6 separate regions of the Homo sapiens genome follow, and all the other regions are linked to region 1. Evidence: promoter capture Hi-C in 16 types of primary human blood cells and fetal thymus (Javierre and others, 2016). All regions are on one chromosome and are shown on one strand. Each heading gives the region's core, a stretch centred on a gene start or on the middle of the fragment in contact. The rest is flanking DNA. Distances are from core to core; before and after follow the strand shown.

Region 1 (3,572 bases), core at 171-2,670:
GCACAAAGGTTTGGTTTTTTTTACAGCAGTGTCAGGTGGTTATTCTCTTCTTCCTCACATGTGAAATGTTAAGGAAAACAAAATAAATCTGTTTAAAAAGAGCCATACATTGCTATCTGAAAACAAACGACAAAATTCTGTGTCTATTTGAAATATCGTCTTGCTGACAAAGGGTTCATAACGTTACTGGGAATTGAGGAGTGAAGTTAGCATATGGAAGGCTCTGGAAACCAAAAGATTTACTGTTAGCCCCAAGAGGAGTTAGGATGAAGGGACAGGTCTCAAAGACCCTGATGCCAATATCTTTGAAAGCCTCGGAGGAGAAATGGTCGCCCTTGGAAAGAAAGGACTGAAGAGCACAGAGACCACAGCTCCTCCCACACACAAACCCCACACACGAGTCTGGTTTGTGCCTAGTGACCCTCCCACCGTCACCGTGCAGCCTCCTCACCGGGCTCACAGGAACTGCGAGCCAGGCTGGAGGCGAGATTGCAGTTAGATATTAACCAGGTGCCCTCAGCCCCGCTGCTTCACAGGAAGCCGCCTCCCTGAGAGTCAGGTCACAGCAGACGCTGACCGCCGGCTTCCCCATTGGCCTGGGGATAAGATCTCTGAGAGTTGCTCAAGAGTCGTCTAAGTTCTTTCTCAGATCTTGAATTCCAGCGGAAAGGCTGGCGCCAAGCAGGCTGAAGACCCCACAAGGAAGCCCACTCAGCAGCAGAATGCGGTTTCTTCACCTCCAGTCCCAAGATTCACCCCTCACTTCTCCACCAACCAGCGACCCCACATCCCAACCACCCCCGTCCAGACCCCTAAACACCCCATCCTCAAACCTCTCACGGAGGCGGATCTAGGGTGTCCTCTCCTATTAAACCGTTTCTGCTGCAGCCCTCGGCGTCCGGGTGCAGTGACTTGGGCTGCGAACCTGTACTGGTTCCGCCGCACAATCTGGGGAGAAGCGGGGCTGAGGGCGCGGAGCTGCCCAGAGAGGGGCGCCGGGGCCGGGGCCGCAGTCGCAGCTCAGGGACGGGACAGGACGCCCGGGGTCCCGGCTGCCGGCCCAGCCCCACCCTGCGGCCAAACGGACCGAGGACCGAGGTGCGCAGGGGGCGCTCAGGTCCCAGACCCCAAAGACGCTGCGGCGAGGCCCGGGTCCCGCCACAGCCGGTTCCGACTGGTTCCGACCAGCCCTTCGCCCTGCCTCAGGACGCCGGGCCCCGCACACTCACCATTTCCCGGCTGTGCGGTGTCCCGGGTCCTCCCAACTCCCGTAGTCAGGGTAGGTCCCAGCGCGACAAAAGCCACCACAGATGTCCCAGGGCGTCTCTCAGTGACAGAATACGGAACAGAGGTCACCAGGGTGAAGAGGCCACTAGCTCCTGGAACGTCACACCCTCCTCTCTGCCTCGCGCCTGATTGACAATTCTCAGGAACCCGCCCACGACTTTGATTGGGTAGCCCTCCAGGTCCCGCCTCCTGGGCACTGAGTGACAGAAGAAGCGATCTCACAGTGCTGAGTGCAGCCGGATGAACAGGTTCCAGACCCGGCCCCTGGCAGGGCGGGCTTCCTCCCTGCGTTGTGACCCGACCCGTCCCGGGAAACGTTTGCCTTAAAGCGGAATTTCCTACCTGTACGCAGTGGGCCCTTTTTGCTTCTTCCTCCTGAACAATTGTGTGCAAGGAATCCCAGACTCACTGTCCAGTGGAGCCATCCCTTGGCCTCAGAGCAGGAGGGCAGCCGAGGCCACACAGGCCACACTGTAGCAGCGGGGGACAGGGGGTGGGTGGGTGGGGGGGTGGTGCTGATGTCCTCCAGGGACCAGGAATTTGGGATGAGGCTGTCGCCTGCAAGGTCAAGCCTTTCTTCCACTATAAGCGCTGGATGGGTTCTTTCTGCGCGCTACGCAAATAAAGACCACGGTATTGCAGTTAAAAAAAAAGTTTAATAAACACTAGGCCAGCTACGATACGTGAGAGACGGAGTTACTACTCAAATTATTCTCATCCAAGGTCCTCTGGTAGGGGTTTTTCAAGGGCAGTTTGGGAGAAAGGGTGGAGGTAGCTAGGCTTGCTACTGACTGGTTGGGGTGGGGATGAAATCACTGGGGATGGAATCTGTCCTCTTGGCAGTGCGTGGTGGCTCACCGCTGTAATCCCAATACTTTGGGAGGCCTAGGTGGGAGGATCGCTTGAGGCCAGTAGTTCAAGACCAGCCTGGACATAGAGTGAAACTCCGTCTCTATACTATAAGGGAGGAGACCACCCCTCATATTGTCTTATGCCCAATTTCTGCCTCCAAAGAAGAAGTAAAAACTAAAAGGCAGAAATGAAATCCACAGGCAGATAACCCGGCTTGTGCCCTGGGCTGGGTAGTTAAAAATCAACCTCTGACCTAACTGTGTTATCTATGATTCCAGACATTGTATGGAAAAGCACTGTGAAAATCCCTGTCCTGTTCTGTTCAGTTCTGGTTACCGGTGCATGCAGCCCCCAGTCACGTACCCACTGTTTGCTCCATCAATCACGACCCTCTCACGCGGACTCCTAGTTGTAAGCCCTTAAAAGGGACAAGAATTGCTCACTCGGGGAGCTCGGTTTTTGGAGACGTGAGTCCGCCGATGCTCCCAGCCCAGCTGAATAAAGCCCTTTCCTTCCACAACTCGGTGTCTGAGGGGTTCTTGTCTGCGGCTTGTACTGCTACATATTTAAAAAAGAAAAAAAGAGGCCGGGCCCGGTGGCTCACACCTGTAATCCCAGAACTTTGGGAGGCCCAGGCGGGCGGATCACCTGAGGTCGGGAGTTTGAGACCAGCCTGACCAACATGGAGAAAGCTCGTCTCTACTAAAAATACAAAATTAGCTGGGCGTGGTGGCACATGTCTGTAATCCCAGCTACCTGGGAGGCTAAGGCGGGAGAATCACTTGAACCCGGGAGGTGGAGGTTGCGGTGAGCTGAGATCGCGCCAAGCCGAGATCGTGCCTTTGCACTCCAGCCTGGGCAACAAGAGCGAAACTCCGTCTCAAAAAAAAACAAAAAAAAGACAAAAAAAAAAAAAACCTATCCTGTTATGCTGAATCACTTCTGGTTGGGGCCACAGGAGCAGAGTTGGCAGGTGCAGGTGGTGTCAGACATGCAAAAAAAAAACAAACAAACAAACAAAAACTGAAAATACGTCTACAAATGCTAATCTACAATAGTGGTGTTATCTGCAGAAATAGCTGGCAATCTATGTCTACACTTTAGCAGCATTCCGATTCCTTTCATCCCTCAGCCTGATGGCCATTCATTCGTTTTACAAAGGCAGTTGAGTTTTGGGGAAGGCTTATTATCATTTAAGCTATCTTCCAAAGTTAGCTGTGCCTAAGAGCCCAGGATTAAGGGAAAGAGAAGACAGAGGGTTGGCAGGGGCGGGGGGCGGGGCGGGGCAGAACGGGTGTTGGCTCAGATCTCTTCCACTGCCATAATTTTCTCACTGATATAATTTTTTTGCGATCTATTCATTTTCATCCCAGAAAATAAAAACACATCAACAATGAAATGAAATTGTTAAATGTGTGAAAAAACTGGAATTA
Region 2 (3,306 bases), core at 682-3,181, 460 kb before region 1:
AGGGTGATGAACAGGACACACTGGAGAGCCTGACATCGGCCTAGACTATGGGGGTGTCTTGATGCTTCACAAAGAGCCCAAGGAGCACCCCAAAGAGGACACTGGAGCACAGGCCCAAAGGGTGTTCACATGCCAGGAAGGCCACTAATTTTGAAAGTCAGGGACATTGGTGCCTGCTTGAGTCCTGATGCTTTATCTATAACATATGCTTTTCTGCATCTGGTTAGACAAGGAAATCTGAAATTTTTGTTTCAGCATTTAGAAATAAGTTATTTAAGCAATCCTCACACTCATGGTTTATTCTGGAACTACCTTCAGACACACAGCTACAGATAGGGTATATAATGAGTATTTCCAAGGCTACACTCTGTAGGAAAAAACTTCATGAAGTCAGTGGGACCCTCTCATGGGAGGGTTTTAAGACCCACAATCAAAAAGGTGGGGAAACATTAGAGTGGAAGGAGGGCAGCAGAAGGTCAAGGACTTTCCCGGAGGCCTAACATACCCAACATTATTACCCTAGATGAAAACCAAATACATATCCTAACACCACATACTCTCTTCAATGTTTAACAGACAAAATGAAATGTATTCAAAGCTAAGCTTCCAGAATTCCACTTTACGCTATTAATGATGTTTTAATATCCCTCAATGTGTTGATATTAGGACATTTTTAAATATGAATACCATTTTCTGGTTATATATGGAAAATATCTTGATTTCTGAGATACAAAAATGCTCATTTTTAGATATACATGGTCTTGCACTTTTTTTATAAAATAAGGTGAAAAGACAGGAAAAATTTTTTCAGATCATGGAACTTGGATTAATAGGAGAAGAGTCATACAAATTTATTTAACATGTATATATGGGAGCCTTCAGAATGAAGACCCACCCAACAATAAGACAAAAAAGCTTATATTACCATTCTGAGGCCAAGAAAGAATGCAGACTTGGCTGGCCAAAAAATCCCGGGTTTGGTGGGTAAGTCAGGTTTAATGGCAAGACAGATTAGGGAAGAGGAAAGGAAGAAGCTTACCTCCTGTGTAGCTAAGGAGACCTTGTTATGTAGATGAAGGCTCCCTCATAGAGAATAGGTGGGAAATGCTGCTTTTCAGACTTTTATTTAGACTTTTAAGTAATAGGGACAGGATTATGCTATGTTGCCCAGGCTGTTATCTAATTCTTTTTCTCAAGCAATCCTCCCAGCTCAGTCTCCGAAAGTGCTAGGATTACAAGCATGAGCCGCCATACCCAGACAGGGTTTGTTCCCTTGTAAAGAATTATTTGTTGCTGGACACAGTGGCTCACAGAGGCCAAGGAAGGAGGATCACTTGAGCCCAGGAGCTCAAGACCTGCCATGGCAACATGACAAAACCTCTTCTCTACAAAAAATACAAAAAATTAGCTGGATATGGTGGCACGTACCTGTACTCCCAGCTATCCAGGAGGCTGAGGCAGAAGGATAACCTGAGCCTGGGAGATTGATGCTGCAGTGAACTGTGATTGCAGCACTGCACTCCGGCCTGGGCCACAGAGTGAGAGCCCTTCTAAAAAAAAAAAAAATATATATATATATATATATATATTTGTTCACTTATTGCAGCTTCAGATTTTTAAAATTAATTGTAAATTGCATTTTCACTACAGCTGGAAAAATAAGAAAATTTTGCACAGAGCCAAGATAAAAATAGATGTCAGAAATAAATCATTAGTCTTATATAGCATTTGTTTCAAAAAAAAAATTTTTTTTTTTTGAGACAAAGTCTCGCTCTCTCACCCAGGCTGGAATGCATTGGTGTGATCTCGGGGCATTGCAACCTCTGCCTCCTGGGTTCAAGTGATTCTCCTGCCTCAGCCTCCTGAGTAGCTGGGATCACAGGCACGTGCCACCACACCTGGCTAATTTTTGTATTTTTAGTAGAGATGGGGTTTCACGATATTGGCCAAGCTGGTCTCGAACTCCTGGCCTTGTTATCCACAAGCCTTGGCCTCCCAAAGTGCTGGGATTACAGGCGTGAGCCACCGCACCCAGTCTCAAAATTCTTAATTTTTTTCTTCTTCAGATGTGGTGTAGTACATTTCTTAAGTCTGTCCTTTTTTGTGGATGATTTCTTTATTTCTTTTTCTTTCTTTCTTTCCTTTTTTTTTTTTTAAGATAGGGTCTGGCTTTGTTGCCCAGACTGGGATGAGGTAGCACAATCTCAGCTCACTGCAATCTCCATCTTCCAGGCACAAGCTATCCTCCCACCTCAGCCTCCGTAGTAGCTGAGACCACAGGCACACACCACTACACCCAAAGTGCTGGTATTACAAGTTTGAGCCACAGTGCATGGCCATTTTTGGATGATTTGTAACAGAGTTTCAGGGCATAGCGTTGAGAATGCTGATTGGGAAAAGAAATAGAGAAAATCTTTTATTACAGCTTGAGAAAATGAATAATCTTCCACAATAAAGTATAGTAGATAAATTGGTGAATTACAAAGATTCAGCAAAATACCAGTCCTCCTTTGCAGGTTGGGGAACTTGTAATGGTGGATAACTCTTCTTCTTCCTGTTATCTGTGGGGTAAGACCTGGCTGGCAACTGTTGTCATATGTTTGTGTTCACATATGATTAATGTGTAGTATGTGCTTTGTTATCATGGAAATAATAATGAAATAATATTGTGCACCTTAATAAGATAATAAGATTCAGAGAATATGATTAAATGCTGAGTTTATCTGAGCACATAGTTTGAGGATAGCCACTGGGGAAACAGATATCCTGAAGAGTGGGGTCAGTGCTCCAACACGGGGAATTTGAGTCTTCTCTTCTATAGGGCAAAATGAAGCTTAACAGGGTGACATTTTCCATACAAGGCCGGTGCACACATTTCAGTGATTTGATAGGTTGCAGCTACCAAATTTCAAGGATGATTGCTTTAACTTTTTTTTTTGGATGGAGTCTTGTTCGGTCGCCCAGGCTGGAGTGCAATGGCGCAATCTCAGCTCACTGCAACCTCCACCTCCCGGGTTCAAGCAATTCTCCTGCCTCAGACTCCTGAGTAGCTGGGATTACAGGCACGTGCCACCATGCCCGGCTAATTTTAGTATTTTTAGTAAAGACGGAGTTCACCATGTTGGTCAGGCTGGTCTCAAACTCCTGACCTCATGATCCGCCTGCCTCGGCCTCCCAAAGTGCTGGGATTACAGGTGTGAGCCACTGCAGCCGGCCTGCTTTAACTTTTTGTAAGGAGGGGTAGTGGTCTCAAAAGGATCCTACCTCTGGCACTTCTCTGTCTTTTCTAATCATTTACAGCCTAAG
Region 3 (3,525 bases), core at 242-2,741, 500 kb before region 1:
ATGTTCTTGTTGACTTTGTAAAAAACCAGTTGGATGTAAATATGTGGATTTTGTTCTAGGTTCTCTATTCTGTTTCATTTATTTCTGTGTATATTTTTATACCAGTAACATGCTGATTTGATTGCAATAGCCTTGTAGTATAACTTGAAGTTAGGTAATGTGTTGCTGTCAGAGGCATTCGAACCAGAGCGACTCCATTCTGAGGGCTAGGAAAGTGAGGCTGGGAATTGCTGGGCTTCATTCCCAGAAAGTTAGGCATACCTCGCTTCTAGGTGTTTACAGTTAAAGGAACAAATTAATAATGTTTACCAAGACCCAGACTTGGTAGTGTCCAGATATCCCAATATCTGGAGAACAAAGGCATTTCTAATTTTGCTTTAAAGATAATAATATCAATTCTTGCAAAATATAGTAATTAAGAAAATTAATCCTTTATCATGGACCCTTATAGCAGAGCACATCTGCCCATATATACAAGCATCATTGTACCTAGGGTGGATGCGTTCCTCCTCTTACTTACAGAAACATCCAACTCTTTCTGGGGAGTAGCTGTTCTTTCACCACTTTACTTTCTTAATAAACTTGCTTTTACTTTGCACTGCAGACTTGCCTTGAACTCTTTCTTGCAGGAAATTCGAAAACCCTCTCTTGGGGTCTGGATTGGGACCCCTGTCCTGTAACATTGCCTCCAACTTTGTTCTTTTTGTTTAGGATTGCTTTGGTTATTCGGGCACTTTTTTGGTTCTATATGAATTTTAGGATTGTTTTTCCTAATTATGTGAAAACTAACATTGGTATTTTGATAAGAATTGCATTGACTCTGTAGATTGCTTTGGGAAGTATAGTCATTTTAATGATATTAATTCTTTCTGAATAATTAATGAAATTAATTCTTCTGATATTAGTTCTTTCCATAAGCATGAAATGTTTTTTCCATTTGTTTGTGTCATCTGTAATTCTTTAATCAGTGTTTTATAGATTTTTTCTTTTTGTAGAGGCCTTTCACCTCCTTGGTGCAATATATTCCCATGTGGGGTGGGGTGTTATTTGGTAGCTCTCGTAAGTGGTATTGCTTTCTCGATTTGGTTCTCAGCTAGATTGTTGTTGCTGTATAGAAACACTGCTGACTTTTGTACACTGACTTTGTATCCTGAAACTCCTGAATTAATTTAACTAATCTAAGAGATTTTTGGTGGAGTCTTAAGCGTTTCTAGATGTAAGATTATATATCACTGAACAGGAATAATTTGACTTCCTCTTTTCCAATTTGCATGTCTTTTATTTCTTTCTCTTGCCTGATTGCTCTGGCCAAGACTTCCTATACTAGGGTTGAATAAGAGTGGTGAAAGTAGGCATCCTTAATCTTGTTCTAGTTTTTATCATTCAACTATTTCCCCATTCAGTATGATGTTGGCTGTGTGTTTATCATGTGTGGCTTTTATTATTTTGAGATATGTTCATTCTGTACCTAGTTTTTTGAGCTTTTATCATGAAGGATGCTGAATTTTATCAAGTGTGTTTTCTAAATCTATTGAGATGATCATATGGTTTTTATTCTTCATTCTGTTTTTGTGATGTGTTACATATATTAACTTGTGTGTGTTGGACCATTTTTGCATTCCTGGTATAAAACCTACTTTATCATGCTGTATTATCTTTTTAATGTGCGGTTGGATTCAGTTTGCTAGTGTTTTGTTGGGGATTTTCACATCCGTGTTCATCGGGGATATTGGTCTGTAGTTTTGTTGTTGTGTCCTTGTCTGTTTTTGGTATTAGGATGTTACTGGCCTCATAGAATGAGTTAGGGAGATTTCCCTTGTCTGTGATTTTTAGGGACAGTTTCAGGATTATTAGTATAGTTCTTTTTGTATGTTTGGTATAATTTTTTTAATGTTGATTTTTAAATTTTTATTTTTTTACTTAGAGATGGGATCTTGTTATGTTGGCCAGGGTGGTCTCAAACTCCTGGCCTCAAGCAATCCTCCTGTCTCAGGCTCCACAGTGCTATGATTACAGGCATGAGCCACCACATCTGGCCTATTTGGTACAATTTTGGTATAAATCTGTCTGGCCCAGAGCTTTCATTTTTGGGAATTTTTTTATTGCTGATTCAATATTGCTACTTATTATTGGTCTATTCAGGATATCTGTTTCTTCTTGGTTCAATCCTGGGAGGTTATACGTTTCAAAAAAACCTATAGGTTTTCTAGGTTGTGAGCATATAGTTGTTCATAGTAGTCTCTGATGGTATTTCTGTGGTATTGGTGTAATGTCTTCTTTTTCAATTCTGGTTTTGTTCATTTGAATCTTCTTTTTTTTCTTGGTTAGTCTAGCCAGCAGTTTATTACTTTTGTTGATATTTTCAAAGAACCAACTTTTTGTTTCGTTTATCATTTGTGTTGTTTTTTAGTCTTGATTTTGTTTAATTCTGCTCTGATCTTTGTTATTTCTTTTCTGCCAACTTTGGATTTGTTTTGTTCTTGTTTTCCTAGTTCCATGGGGTACCATGTTAGGTTGTTAATTTGTTACTTTTTTGACAGAGGCATATAATTCTATAAACTTCCCTCTTAGCATGACTTTTCCTATATCCCAGAGGTTTTGATATGTTGTGTTGCCATTTTTGTTCATTTCAAACAAAATTTTTATTTTCTGTTTTTATTTCTTCTTTGACTCAGAGATCATTCAGGAGCACATTGTTTAATTTCCATGTATTTATACAGTTTTCAAAGTTCCTCTTGGTATTGATTTTTAGTTTTATTCAGCAGTCTGAGAAGATGCTTGAAATGATTTTGACTTTAAAATTTGTCGAGACTAGTTTTGTGGCCTAACATATGGTCTACCTTGGAGAATGTTTCACGTACTGATGAGAAGAATGTATATTCTGCAGTTGTTGGGTTCTGTAAACGTCTGTTAGCTCCATTTGGTCCAAAGTCCAACTTAAGTCCAATTTTTTTGTTGATTGTCTGTCTTGATGATATATCTACTACTGTGTGTGAGGTGCTGAAGTCCCATACTATTATTGTATTGCTATCTATATCTTTCTTTAGGTCTAGAAATATTTGCTTTATTAATTTGGCCTCTCCAATGTTGGATGCATATATATTTAGTATTACTATATTATCTTGCTGAATTGATTCTGTTATCAGTATCTCATGATCTTCTTTGTCTTTTTGTACTGTTTTTTATTTAAAGTCTATTTTATCTGATACAACTATCACAACTCTTGCTGAAGCACAGTGGCGAGATCATAGGTCACTGAAGCTTCAAACTCCTGGGCTCAAGATCTTCCCACCTCAGCCTCCCGAGTAGCTGGGACTACAGGTTCAGGACACCACGCACTGCTAATTTTTAAATTTTTAGTACAGACGAGGTGTGGCTCCGTTTTCCAGGATGATGAACTCCTGGGTTCAAGCAGTCCTCCCGCTTCAGCCTCCAAAAGGGTTGGGATTATAGGCGTGAGCCCCCGCACCCTGCCTGCAAGTCTTTTAATTCACTTCAATTATCTTAGAATTTTCCTTCCCCACT
Region 4 (3,112 bases), core at 388-2,887, 430 kb before region 1:
GAATTCCCAGCTACATGGGAGACTGAGGTGAGAAGATTGCTTGAGGCCAGCAGTTAGAGACCAGCCTGGTAGATACAGTGTGAGAACTCCTCTATTTTTTTTTTTTTAAGACTCACCTTGTTTGATTCTAATTTTGGCAGTTATGAGTAAGGCTGCTAAAAATGTTTGTGGGAGGACTTTTGTGTGGACATCAGTTTTCAGTTCACTTGGGTCAATATGTAGGAATGAGACTACTGAATCCATAAGACCGTGCTTATTTTCTTCAGAACTCCACAGACTGTCTTTCAAATTGGCTGTAGAATTTTCCATTCACATCCCTAGTGAATGAGAGTTCACTGTCACCAGCATTTGGAAGTATCAGTGTTTTGGATTTCATCTACCGCAACAGGTATTTACTGTTACCTCATTGTTGTTTTCTGTTGTTTTTTTTTTTCTTCTTTTGGAGACGGAGTTTTGCTCTTTTTGCCCAGGCTGGAATGCAATGGCGTGATCTCAGCTCACTGCAGCTTCTGCCTCCCCAGTTCCAGTGATTCTTCTGCCTCAGCCTCCCAAGTAGCTGGGATTACAGGCATGTACCGCCATGCCCAGCCAATTTTTGTATTATTAGTAGAGATGAGATTTTACCTTGTTGGTCACGCTGGTCTCAAACTCCTGACCTCAGGTGATCCACCTGCCTCGGCCTCCCAAACTGTTGGATTATAGACATGAGCCATCGTGCCCAGCCTGTTTTCATTTGCTCTTTAATAACATGTAATGTAGAGCATCCTGTCATATGTTTGTTTGCCATAATTATGTTCTTTAGAGAGAGGTATGCTTGGAAAGATTTTGCTTTTTTTTTTTTTTTTTTTTTGAGTTGTAGTCTGGCTCTCTGGCCCAGGCTGGAGTGCCGTGGCACAGTCTCGGCTCAGCTCACTGCAACCTCTGCCTCCCAGGATCAAGTGATTCTCCTGCCTCAGCCTCCCGAGTAGCTGGGATTACAGGCTCATGCCACCACGCCCAGCTAATTTTTGTATTTTTAGTAGAGGCGGGGTTTCACCATGTTAGCCAGGTTGGTCTCAACCTCCTGACCTCAGTGATCTACCCTCCTCAGCCTCCCAAAGTGCTGGGATTACAAGCATGAGCCACCATGCCCGGCCTTTTTATTTTTTGATTAGTTGGCTTTTTTCTTATAGAATTCTAGGAGTTCTTCATATCTTTTGGGTACCAGTCCTTGATCAGATAGGTGTCCTGCAAATATTGTGTCCCAGTCTGCCACCTGTCTTTTTATTCTCTTAACAGACTCTTTTCCCAAACAGAGTTTTATTTTGAATGAAGTCCAATTTATCGATTTTCTCACTCACAGATCATGTTTTTTGTGTTGTGTGTGAAACCTGATTGCCAAATCCAAGGTTGTCTTGGTTTTCACAAGTGTTAAGTTCTAGAAGTTGTGAGTTTTGCATTTTCCATTTAAGTAAATGATTCATCAGGAGGTAGTTTTGTAAAAGGTTCAGTTCTGTGTCTAATTCATTTCTTTGCATTTGCTAATCCAGGTGTTTCAGTACCATTTGTTTTGTGCCACCATGTCTAATTATTTATTTTATTATGGATACAGGGTCTCACTATGTTGCCCAGGCTGGTCTCGAACTGCGGGGCTCAAATGATCTGTCCGCCTTGACCTCCGGTTTTGCATTTTTAATACTTGTCTTTATAGTAGATTTTTCTATGTTCCTAGTGCCTCTCTTGCGATCATATGGAATCTTCTCTTGTATATTTAGTTTATTAAGTGTTTTTAATCATGAGGAGATATCAACCCATTTATGCTAGAGGTTGCAATTTTTTGAATTGCAGACGTGTGAAAAATCAGACTTTGGTAATGACCTTGAGCAGTAGGATACAAATAACTCCCACATGCTTAGCGTTCCAGAAATGGAACAGTGGGCTCAAATGGGTTAAGGCTTGTCACATGCCTTTTCTGCCTCTATTAGGACATTCTTCTCATTTTTTGTTTGATTTGAGATGGAGTCTCACTCTGTCGCCCAGGCTAGAGTGCAATGGTGGGATTTTGGCTCACTGCAACCTCTGCCTCCCGGGTTCAAAGGATTCTCCCACCTCAGCCTTCCAAGTAACAGAGAATACAGGCACTCGCTGCACGCCTGGCTAATTTTTGTGTTTTTAGTAGAGATGGAGTTCCACCATGTTAGCCAGGCTGGTCTCACACTGCTGACCTCAAGTGAACCACCTACCTTGGCCTCCTAAAGTGCTGGGATTGCAGGCATAAGCCAACACGCCTGGCTGCTACCGTGATTTGTTATCAATACTTACTATAAAACAAAACTTAAAAATTATCAGCTTAAGGAATTTTACATGTACAATTGAGATAGGTTGACAAATCTATGTAAGTTCTCTAAGATGAATTCTGTTGTATTTTGCCTTTTGCAATTATCCTGATGTTTCATATATGTCGTAGTATGGGCCAAGATATTGTTTTCTTTCTTTCTTTTTTTTTTTTGAGATGCAGTTTCACTCTTGTTGCCCAGGCTGGAGTGCAATGGCACAATATTGACTGACCCCAACCTCAAGCAATTTTCCTGCCTCAGCCTCCTGAGTAGCTGGGATTACAGGCATGCGCCACCATGCCCGGCTAATTTTGTATTTTTAGTAGAGACAAGGTTTCTCTATGTTGGTCACACTGGTCTTGAACTCCCAACCTCAGGTGATCTGCCCGCCTCCACCTCCCAAAGTGCTGGGATTACAGGCATGAGCCACCGCACCAGGCCAAGATGTTATTTTCTAAGACTAAATAATATTCCATTGTATGTATATGCTTACCACATTTTGTTTATCCATTCAGCCATCAATGGATATGTGGGTGGCTGCATTGCTCATTACTGCCACCCCAGGAAGGTCGTATAGTGGTTAAATCTGTGCTCATTACACCTGGGTATCTCTTAGGAGTTTCTTGTTTGCCCTCTTGTGTAATTACGGTCTTGTTTTTTTCAGTAATGTCCTGTTTGCCCTTCTTATCAGCATCTATCTAGCTACATTCTGACAGGATAACTGCAAACTGAATGATTCCTGGGCATCATAATGGATGTTTCTTTCTACTTAGGTGTCTCCCCTCCTCTCTGCTTAT
Region 5 (3,195 bases), core at 569-3,068, 410 kb before region 1:
TGTGGAGCCTGCAAAGGAAGGGAAAGGAGCCTTTCCTGGGGGCTTCCGGGCAGCCCGCCCTCCCCTACAGGTGGCCTCCAATTGCTCAGAGCAGCTCCAGAAGGAGTGCGGATTCCGAGAAGCTGAAGAGCCCTGGAAAGCAGAAGACCCACATGCACACGTATGTGTGGGGGTTCTGTCCTTTCTGGTGTTGTACCTCTGGAGCCTGGGGCTGTCTTCTGGGCAGGGTTTGGGGTTTGACATGCATGGGGCCACTGGGGTCAGATTTGTAAGATACAGTGAATTTCTTTAAGTTTTTCTTTAAAGATTTAGCCTGCTAACTTCCTCGTCTTTTGTTCTCAAACTCAACTTTCCTGTTCCTCCTTGCCCCTAGTTACTTTAAAACAGCCTACCCCGTTCCCATCAGCTCTAATCAATAACTCACATCTGTTCCCTTGGTTACCTGTACCCATTGTTCCCCCAAAACTGCACATCTCACATGCTCCACCTCTGTACCTCACATCCCCCTCCCCTTCTATATTTAGAAAAATATGTACAAGCAGCCAATCGGGTCAGCTCAGACTGTGCGGTCCGACCCCAGCCCATGGGGGAGTAACACAGAGATAGGGACCGCATTAAGGATAAAAACCTCCTGGTCTCCTTTGTTCTCTGTGCTCTTGTGATCTTGATTGACGTGAGTGGCACCCTTCTGCAGTAGTAAATTGCCTTGCTGAGAGAATTAAAATTTTGCCTGAGTGCTGGTTTTACTTCACGGCACCAAGCTTTTATTCCGGGAGCATTTTATATCCAACAATTCTAGGGGATCGTCCGAGATCCCCATGCTCCTTTTGGAAGAGTTCTTCAGTCACCCTACCCTGGGGAGACGCGTCCCACTGCCCCATTGCGGTGGCCTCAGGGACAGGAGATCGAGACCCACCCATTTTGACGAATAAACCCGGACTCTCAGCAACGCGGGGAAGAGAGGCTTGCAATACCGCAGCGACCAGGTAAACTCTGTGCACAGACCAAGGTGGGAAACGTTGCAGGGGCAACAAAGTAATTCTTTGGTAGTCGGAGGGGTGTGTCAGGGCATTCTGGGGGTTGAAAGTGCATGAATGGTAACAAGCACTACTGCTGTGCGGAGCGAGTGAGTCCAATCTGCGGTTCTGTGGTCACCTCACACGGCTTAGGGCAGCCCTGCGGGGGTCCTGTCACAGGTTTATACGGACCTGCCATCAATGCTAAGAGGAACCTGAAACAAACCTGCGAGGGAAGCGGCCAGAGTGGATGAAGCGAAAGAAGGGTGCAAGGAACCTCCAGCAGGTGGAGCTAAAGGATAGTGGAATTGAGCCTTAGCCACACTTCCAGTGAGGGATAGGCAAAAGACCTCCTAATATGAGGGGTTGAGCCACAAGGAACCCCCCAAATAGGCAAGAGATCCTTAATTTGAGAGGCTGAGCCACAAGGAACCCCCAAAATAGGCAAGAGATCCTTAATATGAGGGGTTGAGCCACAGCAAGCCCCCCTAGGCAAGAGATTCCTATCACGAGGGATTGAGCCTAGCCAGGACCCAGTATAGGAAATATTACAAGCAAAAAAGACAAAGTTAGCAACAAAGATATCCCCCCTAATAGTCCCCTAGGTCTCATGTTAAAACATTAGAAAGATAATGAAAAGACTAAACATAAGAAAAAGCAATTAGTGATAAAATATTGCTGTTCCATTTAGACTCAAGAACGAATCCTTGAACCCTTAGTTTTCTGGCCAGAATTTAAGTCGAATGAGGGATGGATTTGTGAACTTCTAATAGAAAATGTTGCTAGTAGAAGACCTGCCTCCTGAGAAGAAACAAATTATGCCCTATGTTAGTTGCAAGGAGTTGTCCTTTCCCCTCCTCCAAGGATTGAAAGGAGCAAGTCAAAAACTAATATTTGGAGGAAAATGAGTTGTACATGTGCCCTATTAAGATAGAACCATCTTTAATGAAAAAGACAGTGAAGGAAGGGGCTTGGGGGATCCTAGCAAAAAGAACAACTCGCAAGATCCCCTAGACCATTCCCCACCTAATACCCAACCCTTCCCCTCAGGCATCGCCCAGTAAGTCTGTTCTTCCCCAGCCTAAGTCCCTCTCCCCTAAAGAACTCCAAGCTCCTAATTCACCAGATGGCTTTTGCCAGGCTAGCAACATGAAGGATCTGCCGCAACATGTTGTCAGCGTTGTCTGGCCCATAGTGCACCCCTGCAGCGGCAAAGCCCATGCTCCTGCCCACTGGCTGGTCCAAGGTCCTGGCACTGTATTGACGGCAGCTCTGCATGACATGCGAGCCAGGCCCCAGCCTATGCCCCATGCAAACTACATTATAGGATATCTGCCTTACTTTGCTGAGGCTAAGTAATACGGGGCTTCAGCGATGGCTCCAAGCAGCCTGGCATCCCCGCAGCTAAGTTTCCTGAGCAAGAAGTAGATAATCTTTCAGCGGATATATCCACTAGCATTTATTATAGTCAGGCCAGTGTTAAAAGTGAAAATATCCACCAGAAAAGAACTCTGATTCTTTAAAGTCACCTATGTTAAAATGTACCACCAAAAAAGAATTACATGTGTATAAATATGAGGCTATTCTGTTAAAAATGATAGTTTAATGTTACTAGTAATTTGCTTAACCTAACAAGTTTCTTAACGAAAGATCCAAATCTAAAAAGGAAGCACACATGTTTAGATTTAACTGATTACCATACAAATGTCCGGCCAAACTTAAGAGAAACCCCCTTCAAAAATGATTAAAGGAAAAAGGATTCAACAGATGTTCAATAATAAATAGAGAAGTTCCTAGAGAAATAAAATTTAAAAATTGTTTAATAGTTTACCCAAATTTGTAAGCTGTTTGCACTTAGTCAAGCTTTAAAGTAACTGCAAAGGAACCATCTATACTAATCTATATTGATTCTAAATACACCTTTATCGTGGCTCATACATTTAGAAAATTTCAGACAATAATAAAGGTCAAAGCCTTGTTCATGAAGAGTTAATAACCCAAGTGTTAAATAACCTTCAGTTACCAGAAAAAAAAAAAAAGCTATTTTCCACGTCCCCAGGCACCAAAAATCCTATCTTTCAAGAGTTAAGAAAATAACCTAGCAAATCAGATAATCCGAACCAGCTGCCGTTTCTCCTGTAGGCACTGAAGGGAATTCAAATGTTATTTAAACCTCTTA
Region 6 (3,420 bases), core at 908-3,407, 340 kb after region 1:
TTTATAAATTCTCCATTAGTGTACAGTAACATCCTGGGCCTTCGCATTCACTCACCACTCAACTGACTCACCCAGAGCAACTTCTAGTCCTGCAAGCTATGTTCATGGAGTGTCCTATGCAGGTGCATCCTTTTTTATCTTTTATACTGCATGTTTACTCTGTGTATTTTCTGTGTTTAGACTCATAAATACTTAACATTTTGTTACAATTTCCTACAGTGTTCAGTACAACAACATGTTGTATGGTTTATAGCCTAGTAGCAATAGACTGTACCATATAGTCTAGATGTGTTGTAGCTATACCATCTAGATTTGTGTAAGTTCACTTTGTGATGTTTGTACCATGAGGAAATCACCTACAACACGTTTCTCAGAACATATACCCATGATTAAGCAATCTCTGCCTGTAAAATGCTCCAGAAAATTCACACCATGATATAAATTCATCACACACGATATAAAAGTTAAGGCAAGGCATGGTGGCTCATGCCTGTAATCCCAGCACTTTGGGAGGCCAAGGCAGGCAGATCACCTGAGGTCAGGAGTTCGAGACCAGCCTGGCCAAGACGGTGAAACCCCATCTCTACTAAAAATACAAAAATTACCTGAGCGTGGTGGCATGCACCTGTAATTCCAGCTACTTGGGAGGCTGAAGCAGGAGAATCATTTGAACCTGGGAGGTGGAGGCTGCAGTGAGCTGAGATTGTGCCACTACACTCCAGCCTGGGCAACAGAGCAAGACTCCATCCCACACACCAAAAAAAAGTTAAAAATTTTTTATCACTGGCTCATTCTTCAAGTACATCTCTGGACTATGAATTGTAACTTAACTACTTTTCCAAGAAGTCTTGGAAGTGAGATAATTCTGTAAGTACTCTTTAAGCAGTGGTCAAAAGTTTAAAAGGTTGTGTTTTCTCATTAAATCAGTTAGTAAAACTTTTCTCTTTCTCTTGATGTCTTGATTCATGAGTAAACTGAAGTGTATTTTTTTTTTTTCGAGACGGAGTCTTGCTCTGTTGCCCAGGCTGGAGTTCAGCGGTGTGATCTCGGCTCACTGCAAGCTCCGCCTCCCGGGTCCACGCCATTCTCCTGCCTCAGCCTCCCCAGTAGCTGGGACTGCAGGCGCCCGCCACCATGCCCAGCTAATTTTTTTTGTATTTTTAGTAGAGATGGGGTTTCACCGTGTTAAGCCAGGATGGTCTCAATCTCCTGACCTCGTGATTCGACCGCCTCAGCCTCCCAAAGTGCTGGGATTACAAGCTTGAGCCACCGCACCCGGCCTGAAGTGTATTTTTTTTTTCTTTTAAAGACCAGTGTTAGTAGAAGTGTATTTTTAATATACAATTAGTTTTAATTTGTGTATAGTTTTTCAGTTGTTCTCTGAATAAAGAGATTGTTGAATACTGACACACTGTAACTAGGATTTTTCCTACTGGCCTCATGTGGAAGGTGGTGCATATATTACCCATTATATATTTATTTCACCTTTTCCGAAAAACTGCTTTTTAAATTTCTTGGCCAGACACGGTGGCTCACTCCTTTGTAATTCCAGCACTTTGGGAAACCAAGGCAAGCAGATCACTTGAGGTCAGGAGTTCGAGACCAACCTGGCCAACATGGTGAAATCCCATCTCTACTAAAAATACAAAAATTAGCTGGGCATGTTGGAGGGCACCTGTAATCTCAGCTACTTGGGAGGCTGAGGCAGGAGAAATGCTTGAACCTGGAAGTCAGAGGTTGCAGTGAGCCAAGATCACACCACTGCACTCCAGCCTGGACAACAGAACGAGACTCCATATCAAAAAAATTAAATTAAAATATAATAAATTTCTTGCCGGGCGCAGTGGCTCACACCTGTAATCCCAGCACTTTGGGAGGCCGAGGTGGGCGGATCACGAAGTCAGGAGATTGAGACCATCCTGGCTAATACAGTGAAACCCCGTCTCTACTATAAATACAAAAAATTAGCTGGGCATGGTGGCGGGCGTCTGTAGTCCCAGCTACTCAGGAGTCTGAGGCAGGAGAATGGTGTGAACCCGGGAGGCGGAGCTTGCAGTGAGCCGAGATCGTGCCACTGCAATCCAGCCTGGGCAGCAGAACGAGACTCCATCTCAAATAAATAAATAAATAAAATGAATTTCAGCTAGAAGAGCCTTATTCCATTTTCCTTTTTATTAAACATCTGGCATAAGTTGGTAAGTATGTGAAGTTTATCATATATTCTTATGCGAATTATTATTTTCGCCTTTTTTTTATAATTCTGTCTGGGATTTGAATAGTAGAGTTTGAATTCAGGAAGGACACCTGTGATAGGACAATAAAATCTAGAGCTGGACGTGGCCCTCCTGCTACCTGTCGACACAGGTAAATTTCCTAGAATCTGTTCCCTTTATAGATCCATGTTGAAATTCACTTATAGCCTCACTTGCATGAGATTTGCCAGGCAGAAGTGAAGAAGACATTAGTCAGGTATTGGAACCCCACCATACAGGGAGACAGCCTGCTTCCTGCTCATTTTCCTGGTTATTTTCTCTGCCAATCAAAAGTATCCTGAAAACACCCTGAGCTGCTTGACTTCCATTCTCAAAGAGATGTGTTGGTTTCCACAGTTGTCTCCACAAGCTCCGCATCAAAGATCCACGTACAGTTTGGATTTTCCTTCTAGCCTTCATGTGTGGCCCAAGCATCTATTTCAGACTGTCATGGTTGGCATTGTTCTCTGAGGTTCTGTCTTCCCTTTGTGTTTCTATGAGCTTTAATTTGTATGGTTCTTGTTCTGTTAATGCCACTAGGGACTATGTATTCCTGATTCCACCATGACAGCTACAGTAAAACAGTAAAAAAAAAAAAAAACAACTATATGGGAGTTTGTTCTCTTACTGCATTATACAGTGACTACTCTCCCCCATCCTTCCATTTGAGAATAATCACCTTCCTCATATCAGACAAATTGTGGGTGTTTCCAACTATTCCTGAATATTCTCCATCGGTTTATTTTCATTTATGTTTGGTTGTATGCAACTAAAATAATGCATTTTTTATTTATTTGAAGCAAAAGCTTCTTAGATGTTTCTTAGAAATATTTTGTTAACTGTTTCCAAACAACATGTATACTATCAAATATTATCATCATCTGGGTGCAGTGGCTCATGGCTGTAATCCCAACAATTTGGGAGGCTGAGGCAGGATTGCTTGAGGCCTGAAGTTGGAGACCAGCCTGGGCAACATAGTAAGACCCCATCTCTATTAGTTCAAAAACAAATAATTGTCTTCCCCGTTTCCTGAAAGGCTATATTAAAATATCCCATTACAGTTATGAATATTCAGATCAACTTTGTCATTTTGTCAAGATACATTCTGACTCAATATTAGCATGTGCATAAATGTTCTGGTATTTTTCCCTTAGATGTTTTTTATTCT

Evidence for each region. The method cuts DNA at HindIII sites, captures the fragments that hold promoters and counts their contacts. A CHiCAGO score of 5 or more calls a contact.
Region 2: a fragment that was not itself captured here is called in contact with the fragment with the promoter of ZNF44 in region 1 in 4 of 17 cell types (M1 macrophages, monocytes, M2 macrophages and 1 more); the score reaches 7.3 in M1 macrophages.
Region 3: a contact is called between a fragment that was not itself captured here and the fragment with the promoter of ZNF44 in region 1, in 1 of 17 cell types (monocytes). The highest score is 6.6, in monocytes.
Region 4: a contact is called between a fragment that was not itself captured here and the fragment with the promoter of ZNF44 in region 1, in 1 of 17 cell types (monocytes). The highest score is 5.2, in monocytes.
Region 5: a fragment that was not itself captured here is called in contact with the fragment with the promoter of ZNF44 in region 1 in 4 of 17 cell types (erythroblasts, total CD4 T cells, monocytes and 1 more); the score reaches 7.8 in erythroblasts.
Region 6: a contact is called between a fragment that was not itself captured here and the fragment with the promoter of ZNF44 in region 1, in 1 of 17 cell types (erythroblasts). The highest score is 5.5, in erythroblasts.

Annotation. Positions count from the first base shown.
Region 1 is chr19:12,293,463-12,297,034 of GRCh38, forward strand. ZNF44 (zinc finger protein 44) reads right to left here and starts at 1,421. Exons shown (of 4, transcript NM_016264.4): 1 at 1,230-1,421. The coding sequence starts at 1,232. RefSeq lists a silencer at 976-1,205 and an enhancer at 1,756-1,805. The HindIII fragment of the contact is 16,141 bases long and covers 1-3,572 here.
Region 2 is chr19:11,836,515-11,839,820 of GRCh38, forward strand. It overlaps the pseudogene VN2R13P. Among named protein-coding and RNA genes, the nearest start is that of ZNF439, 11 kb to the right of the region's middle. The HindIII fragment of the contact is 1,799 bases long and covers 1,033-2,831 here.
Region 3 is chr19:11,794,002-11,797,526 of GRCh38, forward strand. No RefSeq gene overlaps it. Among named protein-coding and RNA genes, the nearest start is that of ZNF491, 2.8 kb to the right of the region's middle. RefSeq lists a silencer at 3,514-3,525. The HindIII fragment of the contact is 3,535 bases long and covers 1-3,259 here.
Region 4 is chr19:11,862,324-11,865,435 of GRCh38, forward strand. The region is part of intron 1 of ZNF439 (zinc finger protein 439); the gene reads left to right. Among named protein-coding and RNA genes, the nearest start is that of ZNF439, 15 kb to the left of the region's middle. The HindIII fragment of the contact is 6,893 bases long and covers 1-3,112 here.
Region 5 is chr19:11,880,096-11,883,290 of GRCh38, forward strand. No RefSeq gene overlaps it. Among named protein-coding and RNA genes, the nearest start is that of ZNF69, 6.1 kb to the right of the region's middle. RefSeq lists an enhancer at 1,226-1,405. The HindIII fragment of the contact is 2,118 bases long and covers 760-2,877 here.
Region 6 is chr19:12,630,982-12,634,401 of GRCh38, forward strand. It overlaps ZNF791 (zinc finger protein 791), which reads left to right. Exons shown (of 4, transcript NM_153358.3): 4 at 1-2,853. It overlaps LOC105372279 (a long non-coding RNA gene), which reads right to left. Exons shown (of 4, transcript XR_007067142.1): 4 at 2,158-3,420. Among named protein-coding and RNA genes, the nearest start is that of ZNF791, 22 kb to the left of the region's middle. The HindIII fragment of the contact is 1,798 bases long and covers 1,259-3,056 here.